Regions from separate parts of the Homo sapiens genome. Here region 2 is linked to region 1. The links are contacts of gene promoters, found by promoter capture Hi-C in human tissues and cell types (Jung and others, 2019). All regions are on one chromosome and are shown on one strand. Each heading gives the region's core, a stretch centred on a gene start or on the middle of the fragment in contact. The rest is flanking DNA. Distances are from core to core; before and after follow the strand shown. Region 1 holds the start of ADAM17 (ADAM metallopeptidase domain 17). Region 2 overlaps GRHL1 (grainyhead like transcription factor 1).

Evidence for each region. Contacts are between HindIII fragments. The study calls those that stand out against the background at their distance.
Region 2: a contact is called between a fragment that was not itself captured here and the fragment with the promoter of ADAM17 in region 1, in 1 of the 25 tissues and cell types used here (IMR-90 fibroblasts).

What each region holds. Positions count from the first base shown.
Region 1 is chr2:9,551,585-9,558,422 of GRCh38, reverse strand. ADAM17 (ADAM metallopeptidase domain 17) reads left to right here and starts at 2,593. Exons shown (of 19, transcript NM_003183.6): 1 at 2,593-2,914. The coding sequence starts at 2,818. RefSeq lists silencers at 1,669-1,963, 1,935-2,154, 2,385-2,674, 3,289-3,583. The HindIII fragment of the contact is 13,894 bases long and covers 1-6,838 here.
Region 2 is chr2:9,977,699-9,984,536 of GRCh38, reverse strand. All of the region lies in intron 8 of GRHL1 (grainyhead like transcription factor 1), which reads right to left. Among named protein-coding and RNA genes, the nearest start is that of GRHL1, 29 kb to the right of the region's middle. The HindIII fragment of the contact is 8,161 bases long and covers 1-6,838 here.

The DNA of each region.
Region 1 (6,838 bases), core at 1,344-3,843:
ATCAGCCTGAGGAACATAGCGAGACTCCACTTCTATAAAAAAAATGTAAAGATTAGCCAGGTGTGGTGGTGCATGCCTGTGGTCCCAGCTACTGAGGAGGGTGAGGCTGGAGGATTGCTTGAGCCCAGGAGGTCGAGACTGCAGTGAGCTGTGATTGTGTCACGGTACTCCATCCTTGGCTGCAGAGCCAGACCGTCTCAAAAGATAAAAGAGCCGGGCGCGGTGGCTCATGCCTGTAATCCCAGCACTTTGGAGGCCAAGGCGGGCAGATCACGAGGTCAGGAGATCCAGACCAGTCTGGCCAACATGGTGAAACCCTGTCTCTACTGAAAATACAAAAATTAGCTGGGCATGGTGGCGCACAACTGTAGTCCCACCTACTTGGGAGGCTGAGGCAGGAGAATCCCTTGAACCTGGGAGGCAGAAGCTGCAGTGAGCCAAGATCATGCCACTGCACTCCAGCCTGGCAACAGAGCAAGACTCCGTCTCAAAAAAAAAAAAAAAAAAAAAAAAAGATAAACTAATTAATCTATCCAGTGCCCCTCTTACCATATTCCTTTGGCTCTTTATCTCCCCCACGTGGTGCTCTTTTATCTTAAAAGTATGCACAATTGATAAATGAAAGATGAACTGCAAATTGGAATAATTTGGGTCCTGATTTGTGAATTGAAAAGATTACTTGAAATTTGGAATGTCCCTGGAAATCTAGGACTTCTGGTTATTCAGGCCAGGCGCGGTGGCTCACGCTTATAATCCTGGCACTTTGGGAGGCCGAGGCGGGTGGATCACCTAAGGTCAGGAGTTTGAGACCAGCCTGGCCAACGTGGTGAAATGCCATCTCTACTAAAAATACAAAAATTAGCTGGGCGTGGTGGCGGGCGCCTGTAATCCCAGTTACTTGGGAGGCTGAGACAGGAGAATCGCTTAAACCTAGGAGGTGTTCAGTCGGTTGTAGTGGGCCAAGATCACGCCATTGCACTCCAGCCTGGGCAATAAGAGCGAAACTCTTTCCCCCACCACCCCCCCCCAAAAAAAAGAAAAGAAAATGGATCGGGATTTTTTTTTTAAACGGCATTTACTAAACAGCTAAGTACCTTCTATGAGCAAGGCACTGTACAAGAGCTGTTGGGGATACCAAAATAATACAATCTACGATCTACTAAAGTTACAAGCCGGACATTATGGTGACTGGATGTTCAGAAAAGAAACCAGATGACATTATTATGGTACACCAAAAAAGCCCCCCAAAAACCGTACTCAACTGTCACATTCTTATGGAATACAATTTTTACAGATTGTATACAATTTGCATGTGAAATTCTGCTTACTTTTTGACTAGGTATGCCACTAATGGGTATGTTTAATAAAGATATTTTATACTTCAGATGTACAGACCAGGTCCGGTTAATTTTAGCCAACAATGTATTGTTGAAAAAGACGCTGATATTTTACTGCGGCAAACCACCATTAACATAAATTTTAACCACAGTTTGAGTATTTTATTAGGAATAAGCCTTGAAACTTGAATAGGACTAGTATTCCTAACAATTTACCGTTTCATAATAAAGGCTGTCTCACTCTTAAGTGGAAAACGTATTATGTCCTACTTTTATAAACTTTGGTTGAACTAAATAAAACAGCAACATGTACCCAACGTTTTTAGACTGTTTTATTCAGTACCATAAACATTCACTAAACTATACAGAGCTAAAATCATGCAAAAGATTGCAAAACAAACTGCCTTGGGAAATTTCCAGTCTAAGCTAAATGGACCAAGTATAGGATTGAATTTTAAGAAGTTGGTGGGAAGATTCCAGCTCTTGTACTCACAGGTAAGGTCCTAGGATTCTATTTGTTGAAGTGTCTGCAGACCCTCTCCCTACAGCAGGGGCGTGGAGCAAATGTGCATTCAGGAAGTGCTTATTAGTCCCCCCAAAACCTTTTTCGTGACGACAGACGGATGGAGGCCTCAGACGACTCCGGCAGTAGGACCCTGAACCAAATGCCTGAGCTGCGCTCGAAAGGCTCGTCTCGCAGGAGCTGGCGAGTGGCACGGGCTTCGGTGGCCGGGCTCGGGGCTCGGGGCTCGGGGCCCGGGGCCGGGGGGGGCGGGGGGTCCGTGCCCAGGGCACTCTGTGGCTCGATTCATGTCCCCGCCCTCCCACCTGAGCACACTGGGCAGAGAGCCTGCGGCATCGGGCCAGTCGCGCCTCCTCGTCCGCCCTGGGCAGGTCGCTGGGCCCCAGGCCGCTTTCTACAGCTCCTTTAATAAAATGGACAGCAGGGGTCCTAACCAGACGTGGGCATCAAGACAAAGGAGGCGGCCAGACGCGCTTGAGGGCCTGCTCGCTAGCTCCCGCCCCCCCATTCCGCGGTCACCCGGGGACAGAGGCCAGGCCGGACTGGGTGGAGTTGGGACTCATACGTCTGCGTCCAGGAAGGCGCCGGGCGAGCCCCAGCTAGACGTGACGGGCGGGGCCGAACACGGCAGCGGACCAGAGGCCCGCGGCGCACCGGCGTGGGGCGGGGCAAGCGGAGCCTCCCGGGATGCCGCGCGGCAGCCGGCTTCCGGCTGTGGGTGGTGCGGGGGACAGCGGCGGCCGGAAGCTGGCTGAGCCGGCCTTTGGTAACGCCACCTGCACTTCTGGGGGCGTCGAGCCTGGCGGTAGAATCTTCCCAGTAGGCGGCGCGGGAGGGAAAAGAGGATTGAGGGGCTAGGCCGGGCGGATCCCGTCCTCCCCCGATGTGAGCAGTTTTCCGAAACCCCGTCAGGCGAAGGCTGCCCAGAGAGGTGGAGTCGGTAGCGGGGCCGGGAACATGAGGCAGTCTCTCCTATTCCTGACCAGCGTGGTTCCTTTCGTGCTGGCGCCGCGACCTCCGGATGACCCGGGCTTCGGCCCCCACCAGAGACTCGGTAAAGACCCAGGGGAGTTGGCTTAGGCCGGCGCCTGGAGCGCTCGTTTGAGGGAAGAGCAGGGGAGCTGGGTCTATCAGGTGTTTGGGGGCGGGGTATTGGCGATGGTGGCGCGTCCCTAAGTTTTCAGTGTAGAAGGGGGTGTGGCTCTCGGAGTTTGGGGAAAGAATAAAGGAGATGGGCCTGTCTCTGAGTGGGAAAGGGCTACTGGACGGGCTCCATGTAGTGACTGAGCGCCTGAGAGGGGTTTGCTCCCTAGCTTTGTGTTCGGGGAGGGTGTTGGGAAAGCGGTAAGGAGTAGGGTGGCTGGATCTTGTTTGGAGAGGGAGATGTGGTCAGGGTTCTTGCCTTAGTAGGGAACAAATCTAGTGTTGTGTGTTCCTACCAGAGCCAGAAAGGAAGGGCCCAAAGCTCCAGAATTCTTCCTGGTCCTCGAAGGAGGGAACTAGAATTTCTGCTGTAGGAGGTACTTATGCAGTAATCTCGTTGGGAGGCGGAGACTGGAGTTGGAGTCTTAAGAGTTGTGTTTTTGCGAACATCCTAAGCACGTTCTTGGTTATTTCAATTGTAGCTTATTGGAGGTGCTTGGGAGATGGGGGGAGGCGGAAACCTGGTAAGCCAACTCGTGATGCTGCCACTATGAATGCTTTCCTTGCACTTTTAAACAAAGAAATTATCAAGAGTGACGAGTTTGATGAATTTAGAGGCTAGAAAGTAGAGGGTTCCTATTTCATTAGATTTTCCAGAGAGATTGGATTTTAAGGATGGAGATGCATTAAGGGATCTGAACTTTGGTGGAAGTAAGTTTGCGTGAACTTTTAGTGTATTTTAAAATCCTTTTATCTTTCAAAAATTGACGTGTAAGATACTTTAATTAGTAATAAAGTGTGAAATAATGTTTTCCCAGTGTGTGAAATTGTAGGCTTGCATGGTTGTACTGGTTCCCAAATTTCACCATGATACCATGTGTAGTATTTTTTTTCTTTATATTTAGTGGACAGAAATTGTAATGGATTGGTATGGATACTAAAGGTGTTGAGAGTGTTATCACTTGAACAGCTGTCTTATGATTCTTTCCGATTGAAATGGATTACAAGTGACTAATGAAAGGCAAGGGATCTTGTTAGGAAGTGCTGAGAAGTGGTAAGTCAGTACAAATTGAAGGACATTTTGAGGTAGGATTGTGGTTAGGATGGAGGGATAGGGTAAGGGTCTTCATTTTAAGGATAAATGTTAGTAAAAAGAATAAATATGTATTTTGAGATATTAAAATTATATTTGCACCACCCTGACACAACTGTTTCACTTATGTTATTAATCTGTTGTTCGTAGGTAAAAATAAGCATGAGTCCCAAGGAAGCATACAGTTTAAAGAGAAACATTACTTTCTAGATCAATTCATAACATTTGCAGATCGTAAGGTTTTTTAGACCATTTTTTTTTTCCAAGACAGAGTCTTGCTCTGTTGCCCAGGCTGGAGTGCAGTGGCGCGATCTCAGCTCACTGCAACCTCCGCCTCCCGGGGTTCAAGCAGTTCACCTGCCTTAGCCTCCTGAGTAGCTGGGATTACAGGCATGTGCCACCACGCCCAGCTAATTTTTGTATTCCTAGTAGAGACGGGGTTTCACCATGTTGGCCAGGCTGGTCTAGAACTCTTGACCTCGTGATCCGCCCACCTGGGCCTCCCTAAGTGCTGGGATTACAGGCATGAACCACCGCTCCTGGCCCATGTGTTTGTTTTTTATTTGCAAAATGCAGACCACCTGTGCCAGAAGAATGCATAGACTTTTCTTTTTTCTTTTCTTTTCTTTTTCTTTCTTTTTTTTTTTTTTTGAGGCAGTGTTTTGCTCTTGTTGCCCAGGCTGGAGTGCAATGGCGTCATCTCAGCTCACCACAACCTCCGCCTCCCGGGTTCAAGCAATTCTCCTGCCTCAGCCTCCCAAGTAGCTGGGATTACAGGCATGTGCCACCACGTCCGGCTAATTTTTTGTATTTTTAGTAGAGATGGGGTTTCTCCATGTTATTCAGGCTGGTCTCGAACTCCTGACCTCAGGTGATCAGCACACCTCGGCCTCCCAAAGTGCTGGGATTAAAGGCTTGAGCCACCAGGCCCGGCCTCTTTTTTTTTTTTTAAACGAAATATTTGAAGGACACACAAGTATTATACGTGGCATTGGAAATACAAAGATCAGACGATATCCATCTTCAAATGGTTATAGCATAGGGAAATAGACATTCATTTAGGACACTTCTAAAACAGCATAGAGGAGAGTGCTAGAGTACGTTATAGCAAGTGTTATCACCAAATGAATCTTAGAGATCAAGTCTAGTTTTCAAATAAAGGAGGAGGAAAATGAGTCTCAGGAAGATGCTGTCAGTTGTCAATGATGAACATAGGCCTTGTGGGTATTTTTCTTTTGAAGAATGACTTTTTTTTTCAGTTTGTTTGACAGCTTACAATATAATTTGTTACTTAACCTTACCATTAGATTGAGTTGGTCAAGACTAGCAAATAGTTTCATAGTTGAAAAACATGCTTTATTATTTATTTTTTATGTTTATTGTCCTACAAATACTACTATATTGCAGTACTCAATATCGATTAGGCATATGACAACATTTTTCTGAAAGGCAAAAAATACCTAATAAAATGAAGCCTGGTTTTTAGAGTCCTCTATGGGTCACCAAAAATGATTTCAATTGAACTGTTATGAATTGCATAATTTAGGAAAGTTATGAGTCATATGAGCTTAGTCATGATGATATCTTGTTGAAGTTGCAGCTGGGGTGTATAAGTCTCACTTTGATTTCAAAATCGTTTTCCCTTTGTGTTACTTTTAATAAAAGAGGATGTAGTGGGTGGGAGGAAAAAATATAGGTCACAGATGAGGGATGAGAAAGTTTGTATCTGAAACATGTATTTTCAAATTTACCTTGAGGTTATTGGCATGGGGATTCTCCATATTGCAGTGCTGATTTCATTATTGACAGCACCATTTTACTCAGTATTTTGACATCTGGCTTTCTCTTTTGATGTTAATTTTGCTTACTGGCTGCATTCCTTTGAAACCTAAATGCTTAACTGCCCTAACTGCTCCAAGGGAGATTTAATGTAACTCTGCTTTATATTAGTCTAAGAGATAAACCATATTTCAAGAGTAGAATGGAGAGGAATTAAGCAGATAATTGTGATGGGGAAACTGGAGAGATCCTTTTGACTTTCACAGGATTTCCTAGAACATTAAATATAGGTTTCCTCCAAGGCCAATTGTGGTTGATTTTTGGATCCTTCACCATTTTCTATTTGTGAGATAATAAGTGTATACAGCTGGAAGTGTAATGTGAAGAAAGTCTGAAAAAGATTGATAGGAAAGGAGGACAGGAATGGGCTTCATTGAGGTAACGGAAGTGAAATGAAAGGCTTTTCATATATGGGTTGAGCATCCCTAATCTGAAATGCTCCAAAATTTGAAACTTTTTGAATGCTGGCATGACAGCACACATTACCCCTAACACACGATTTTTTCACTGTTAGTGGTATATTTTTTACTGTGTAGTACTTATGTGTGAATAGGTATAACAAAACGATTACTTATTGTAGCATGTAAAATCAGTCAGGAATGATGGTGATGCCAGACAACCACAGATTATTTATGTGGGTGGCCGAGACAGTGACACCTTTGCTTTCGAATGCTTCGTTGTACACAAACTTTTTTTCATGCAAAAAAAGTTACTTAAAAATATTGTTTAGGCCAGGCGCGGTGGCTCATGCCTGTAATCCCAGCACTTTGGGAGGCCGAGCTGGGTGGATCACGAGGTCAGGAGATCGAGACCATCCTGGCTAACATGGTGAAACCCTGTCTGTACTAAAAATACAAAAAATTAGCCAGGTGTGGTAGCAGGCGCCTGTAGTCCCAGCTACTC
Region 2 (6,838 bases), core at 1,965-4,464, 430 kb before region 1:
ATTGGAAGCTGCTACTTAAGAGGAACCCAGTGTACAGCAAATAAACATGTGCCATTTCCCCACTATTTTTATCACTGTGGATTTTAAAAATGTTTTTGAGCTCCCTTTCAACTAGTTTTAGAATTTACTGCGGATGCATGTGCACCACATAGTGGACATTATTGGAATTACAGTTTTTAAAACTAAGACTGGCCCATTTCAGACCCTTCAACCCCGTGAGCTGACAGGGGAAGATTCCTTCTAGCCCCTGGGTCAACAGCCAAGAATGGGTCCACCACAAGCAGCACTGGGTGTCACTGGCTGAACTAGGGCAGATGGGGAAAAATTTAAGTTATAATGGGGTTGGGGGGCAGCTATAGTAACTTTTTTTTTTTGAGATGAAGTTTTGCTCTTGTTGCCCAGGCTGGAGTGCAATGGCGCAATCTCGGCTCACAGCAACCCTGCAACCTCCGCCTCCCGGGTTCAAGCGATTCTCCTGCCCCAGCCTCCTGGGTAGCCAGGATTACAGGCTTGCACCACCACACCTGGCTAATTTTGTATTTTTAGTAGAGACAGGGTTTCACTATATTGGCCAGGCTGGTCTCGAACTCCTGACCTCATGATCCGCCCACCTCGGCCTCCCAAAGTGCTCAGATTACAGGTGTGAGTCACCACTCCCGGCCACATTTTTTTTTTTAAACACTTCAAGTACAATCTCTAAATCCACAAATCAGAGGTAAGGAGAGTCTGTGGAATGCATTCAGGTTTAAAAAAAAAAAAAGTCCATGCAAACAACTAAGCAAAGTAACCAAACCACCATATATTTTTCAATTTACAACCAATGGAAAATCCGAATTTTTTCTGTCATTCTAGGCCACGTGGCTCAATTCCTAGTTCAAAAACAGCTGCCTGGGAAAGTTCGACTTCATCCTCACGATTCCAGGAAGTGATATTCCCTTTACAAGAAGATTTCACAGTAATCCAACCCGAAACCTAACCTCCCCTTGCTTCCCAGTTTCAAGTTTCTATTCAAAAAAGAAATGAGCAGGGGCCAAATCCCAGGATCGGGGCAAACATGGAGCTTTGGCACAGCTTTGCCCATGCTGGTGTGCATTCATGATGATTTGCAGTCTCTTACTGATATACATTTCTCTCTTATTCTAAAAAATCAATTCTTCCCAAACTTGGCAGTTTTCTAAATGTATTAAAGAAAGTTGACAATGGTCCTAATTCAGCATTAAAAAAAAAATGCTACCTTGCCTAGATAAATACACAAACATCCCAGGAGAAGGTGACAAAGCTGTGAAACGTAAGCACTGCAGGCCAGGAACATGAGAGACAAGAACAGTGGGCCGAAGATGCCAAAGAGAAGATGGGGCCGGTGCTCACGATGCCCCTGCTCTTAGGAAAGGATCCCAGGTAAGAACACAGATGATCAAGGGGATATGCTGGTGTGGAGGGGACATACGTGCCGGGTTTAACCCTCAACCAAAGTCTACAAGGGGAGCCACATGCACAGCCGCTTAGGTCTGAACATCAAAGCATTTGAGCTGGCCCCTAACTAAGCACTGCGACCCAGTGCAAGGGTCCTTACCTGTCAAAGGGCAGGGTGAGTTCGTGGATCTCTAGATGACTACCTCTGGACGTCTATGATTATATACTTATATTGACAAAGGATGAATCCTATATCCATACTGTTTTTACTGGTGACAATAATTTTGTGTAATACATTTACCTATCAACTTTTTATAAGTCATATTAGTTTAAAAATACCAAGTAAGTTGCCAGTTAAAGTCATCACAATAACTACTTATGTAAAACTTAAGAATCTCATACGGCAATGGCTCTCAAAGTGTGATGCCAGGAGCATCAGCACGAGGGAACTTGTTGGAAATGAAGATCCTGGTGCCCACCCCAGACTCACTGAATCCGAAAACTCAGGGAGAGTGAAGCGGGAGGTTAACAAGCTCTCCAGCTAATTCTATGCACACTAAAGTTTCAGAATCCTGTCTGTACAACAGTGCCTCACAACTCTGACTGAATTAGAATCGCCTGGCAGGACTTTAAAACATACGGATGTCAGATGTCCTGGCTACACCCCAGAGATTCTGATTTCATTGTCCTGGAATGGGTTTGAGATGCTGGGACTGTTTTTTTTGGTGCTTCCTACCAAATTCGAGTAATTCGAGTGATTGGCCAAGATAGAAACCACTGCGGTAACGTGATTAGTCTTCTAGCTGCTTATACACTGTGATCCACAAAAGGTCTACCTTGGCTCCAAAACTCTGAGATTATTAAAGCAAGTTCCAATACATGGTTTCCTTTCCTTAAAGAGTTAAGATATTTTTATATGTATTTATATGTATGCCAGCAAGTTTTTAACATTAAACAAAATTTTTACAGAGGCATAGCCCTATCAAATAAGAATATTCATGTAATCAAAAGAAAGATCTAGGTTAAAGCCATTTTGTTCAACCCTGCTATTCAATAAGGTCATGCAAATCCTCAAATACTCAAGAGTTCTTAAGATATTAACCACAAAAATAAACAAGTACACACACATTAAACTCTCCCGCTTATTTTTATTACTCATGTTATGTTTGATTTCATAGGGATTTGCATTTGTGGATGAACTTGTGTGTTCAGCTGAAGGCTGAAGTTGTAACTCTGAACCACAGGACAAAGCATGATGTGATGTCTTCCTCACTAAATGGCAATGTCCTTGAGAAGACCCTGTCTTAATCATCTCTGTGTCTCACGCCTGGCTCATAACATATGCTTATTGCATGCTTTTAATAAAAGGAGGAAAATGCATACTGGGTAGTAAGTAAGTATAGCTAAGAATAAATAAAATGTAGATATATAAAATATCTTTTCATACCCTTATCTAAATCAGAAGCGACTATTTTTCTGTAAAGGGCCCGACATTATTTTCACATCCGTAGGTCATATGCAACTACTCGACTCTGCAGTAATAGTGTAAAAGCAGCCACGGATATGAGTGTGGTCGTGTTTCGATAAAACTTGATTTATATAAGCAGGCACCTAGCTGGCCCGCGCCTCAGAGCTGTCGTCTGCTGACCAGTGATCTAAACCATCCTCTAAGTTGCTTGGACATTAATTTATCCTTACATCATCACGATGGAGTAAATAGGGAGGAGGTGTATTTCCCTGTTTGTAATTGAGTATTTCCACTTTCCGCATAAGCGACTTCCTGGCAAGACATCCAGTGTGTGCTGTGCCCATGTGTCACTCGCCTGTGGAAACACACTGTCCCTATCAGCCCAGCCCACACTCATGGAGGGGACCAGGTAAGTTCTGAGGGAGAAGTGCAGCTTCCGGGGAGCTTTATGGTCAGGAGGGTGGCCTTCTTTAGTCTGCAACTGAACAGTTTTGTTTAATGTTAAAAAGCTGCTGGCATACACATATGGCGAGTGTAGAAACACAAGCCAGAGCTCTCCCTTGGGTCCAGTGGGAGCAACAAGATGGGCACACTTTGTTCCTCAGTTTTAACACTTCCCATGGATTCTACCTAATGGGCAGCCCCGAGTGAGCAAGACCACAGGGCTGTTCACCCAAATCCAGGTAAAACCAGGCTCGGACCATTCCTATCCTGCAGACAAATTATCACTGTGATTACAGAAAACACTCCACTATCTTTACAGAGGATGGGAAAGAGGTAAAAAGTAAGATGAATGAGCACACATCCAACTCCTCCTCTATAAAACATACAGGAATGCACGCACACTTAAAAAGCCCCATTTCAGAATCGGAGTAGGCTGAATGATTTACAACCTTCCTTCTCTAGAAAGATGTGAAGATCTCTGACATAAAACTTTAAGAATTCAAAAGATGACCTTTTCTGTTTTCATACTTCCTTCCCAATTATTTTGAGAGAAAACATTTGTATTCAAATAATTAGAACATTAATCTCAAAAGATGAGCAACTACTATTCCCACCCAAATTATTGGAAGAGAAAAAAACTAACCACAAACATAAACTGCTGAACAGGCCAAGGTGCTCTACAAGATTCCTTTTTAAATGTCTAGCCCATTTTTCTAAGGACAGTTCCTCATTCCTGACCAAGAATTTATGCACTTAGAATGTTTCAAAATATTTAATTCTTTTTTTTTTTTTGGTTTTCAAACCTCAGTTTGAAAATGAGAGGAAAACAAAATAAAATGATTTACATAATCAAAGGATTAACTGATACAGACTTTTATTCTAAATGCTCACAAGCACAGAAACCAACAAGAAATCAGATCTTGAACGAATTTATAATGATTCTTCCAGGAAGCACCGCGGCAGCCACATAAGCGCTGTTCACACCTGGCTGCGTCTGCCAAGTTAGTCCTCAAAGAGAAAACAAGGAGGAAAAAGACAAAAAAAAAACAAACCACCAAACCCAGTGTGCTCAAAACACAGATCACCATCAGAGGTTCATTTCACAGCAGGTATAGGGAAAGTAACTGAGAATCAATTTTATAAAACCCCCAACACACCCACTCCTTTCGAGCTTTTATCAACACCACAAACCAAGACACAATTCCAGTAAAGCTTGCTAACTGTCTAGTCTAAAGAGAGTAGTCAGGAACGTGAACTTTAACAAGTGAATTTAATTTGTGGAGAGAAATTATAGAAATATTTTTAAATCTCCTAATTCACAGAAAAGAATGCATGAACAAAGCACTTGGAGTCCATGAGTCAAAAGTTACAAAAACATCAAGTGGTGAAGTTAGGAGCTAAGGGATGCAAATGTTTAATACATATCAGGGTATTTTTCATGAACTAGCAAAAAGGCTGTTGCTCTTTAAAAATTACCACAATGACAGTAATACTCATTCTGTATTATCATTCACCTATAAGAAAATAATCCAACATCCAAATATTAGTCTTAATTTTTTTTTCCACTGAGAAATTTAGGTAGAATTTTACATGGTTTTGTAACGTTGCTGCTATAATGCTGAAAATAATTTCCATAAGACTTTCATAATATAGTTTGCTCAACTGAGTAGAATAAAACAATTTCAAAATTTGAGCACTGGCCAGGCAGTGGCTCACACCTGTATGTGGGAGGATTGCTTGAGTCCAGGAGTTTGAGACCACCCTGGGCAACATAGCGAGACCCTGTCTCTAAAACAGAAAATAAAATAAATTAGCTGGGCATGGTGGTGTGCACCTGTAGTCCCAGCTACTTGGGAGGCCAAGGCGGGAGTATGGCTTGAGCCTAGGAGGTAGAGGCTGCAGTGAGCTGTGTCATGCCACTGCACTCCAGCCTGGGCAACAGAGTGAGACCCTGTCTTTAGAGTAAAAAAAAAAAAAAGATTGAACATTTAGATCCATTAAGACTAATATGAAGCAACTTTATGACAGTTTGGATAAGGTTTCCTTTTTTTTTTTTTTTTGAGAGAGAGTCTTGCCCAGGCTGGAATGCAGTGGCGCGATCTCGGCTCACTGCAACCTCCACCTCCCGGGTTCAAGCGATTCTCGTGCCTCAGCCTCCTGAGTAGCTAGGATTACAGGCGCGCACCACTACATCTGGCTAATTTTTGAATTTTGTTTTTTGAGAGGGAGTTTTGCACTTGTTGCCTAGGCTGGAGTGCAATGGCGCGATCTCAGCTCACTGAAACCTCCGCCTCCCGGGTTGAAGTGATTCTCCTGCCTCAGCCTCCCATGTAGCTGGGATTACAGGTGCCCGTCACCACACATGGCTAATCTTTGTATTTTTAGTAGAGACGGGGCGTCACCATGTTGGCCAGGCTGGTCTCAAACTCCTGACCTCAGGTGATCCATCTGCCTCGGCCTCCCAAAGTGCTGGGATTACAGGCATGAGCCACCATGCCCGGCTGGTTTCCTTTTTAAAGACCTGATTTTCAAACTAAAATAGAGTAAGTTCATAAGACCAAGTGAGATGTCACAGGTGCTCATCGAGGCAGCATCATCTCAGTGCTTGGGAAAATGAAAGAGCCTAGCTAGGAAAAACCACTAATAGCCTTCAATGGTTCTCTGCAGTGTGAAGGCAGGAATCCAAATTCTCAAGGCCTTCCAAAATCCAGCTCCAAATGTCCATTCTCGTTCACATCTCCTTTACAGGCACTTCCAAACTCTGGGGATCTTCATTTTCTCTGCCCCTGAATTTTAAAATACCCTTTCCTCCATCGTCTACTGACATACATTTCCCTTATGGATAAAGATCCAGCACCAACGGATACACCCTTTCTCATCACCATCCCCTCATCTGCCCAAAGGGAATCCCTCACACTCTCAGCTGTGTCCACTGCACTCTATGTACAGCTCCCTTTTACCACTTACCAAGTTGGACTAAGTAGCTTTTTCCTTCCCTCAAACTCCCTGTGAGGACAGATGATATGGTTTGGCTGTGTCCCCACCCAAATCTCATCTTGAATTGTAGCTCCCATAACTCCCACGTGTTGAGGGAGGGACCCTGTGGGAGATAACTGAATCATGGGGGCGATTTCCCCCATACTGTTCTCGTGGTAGTGAATAAGTCCCATGAGATCTGATGGTTTTATAAGGGGTTTCCCCTTTTGCTTGGCTCTCATTCTCTCTCGCCGGCCGCCATGGAGGACGTGGCTTTCGCCTTCCGCCATGATTTTGAGGCCTCCCCAGCCACATGGAACTGTGAGTCCATTAAATCTCTTTTTATTTATAAATTACCCAGTCTCGGGTATGTCTTTATCAGCAGCATGAAAATGGACTAATACACCAGACTATGAGATTCTTTAGGGAAATGGCCACTTCTCTATACTCTCATTGCCTCGGTCAAGGTCATCACCTGGATCAAGGACACGGAGGGCGGAGTGAGAACCTTAACATTCACCTCTGTTTAACTCCTGT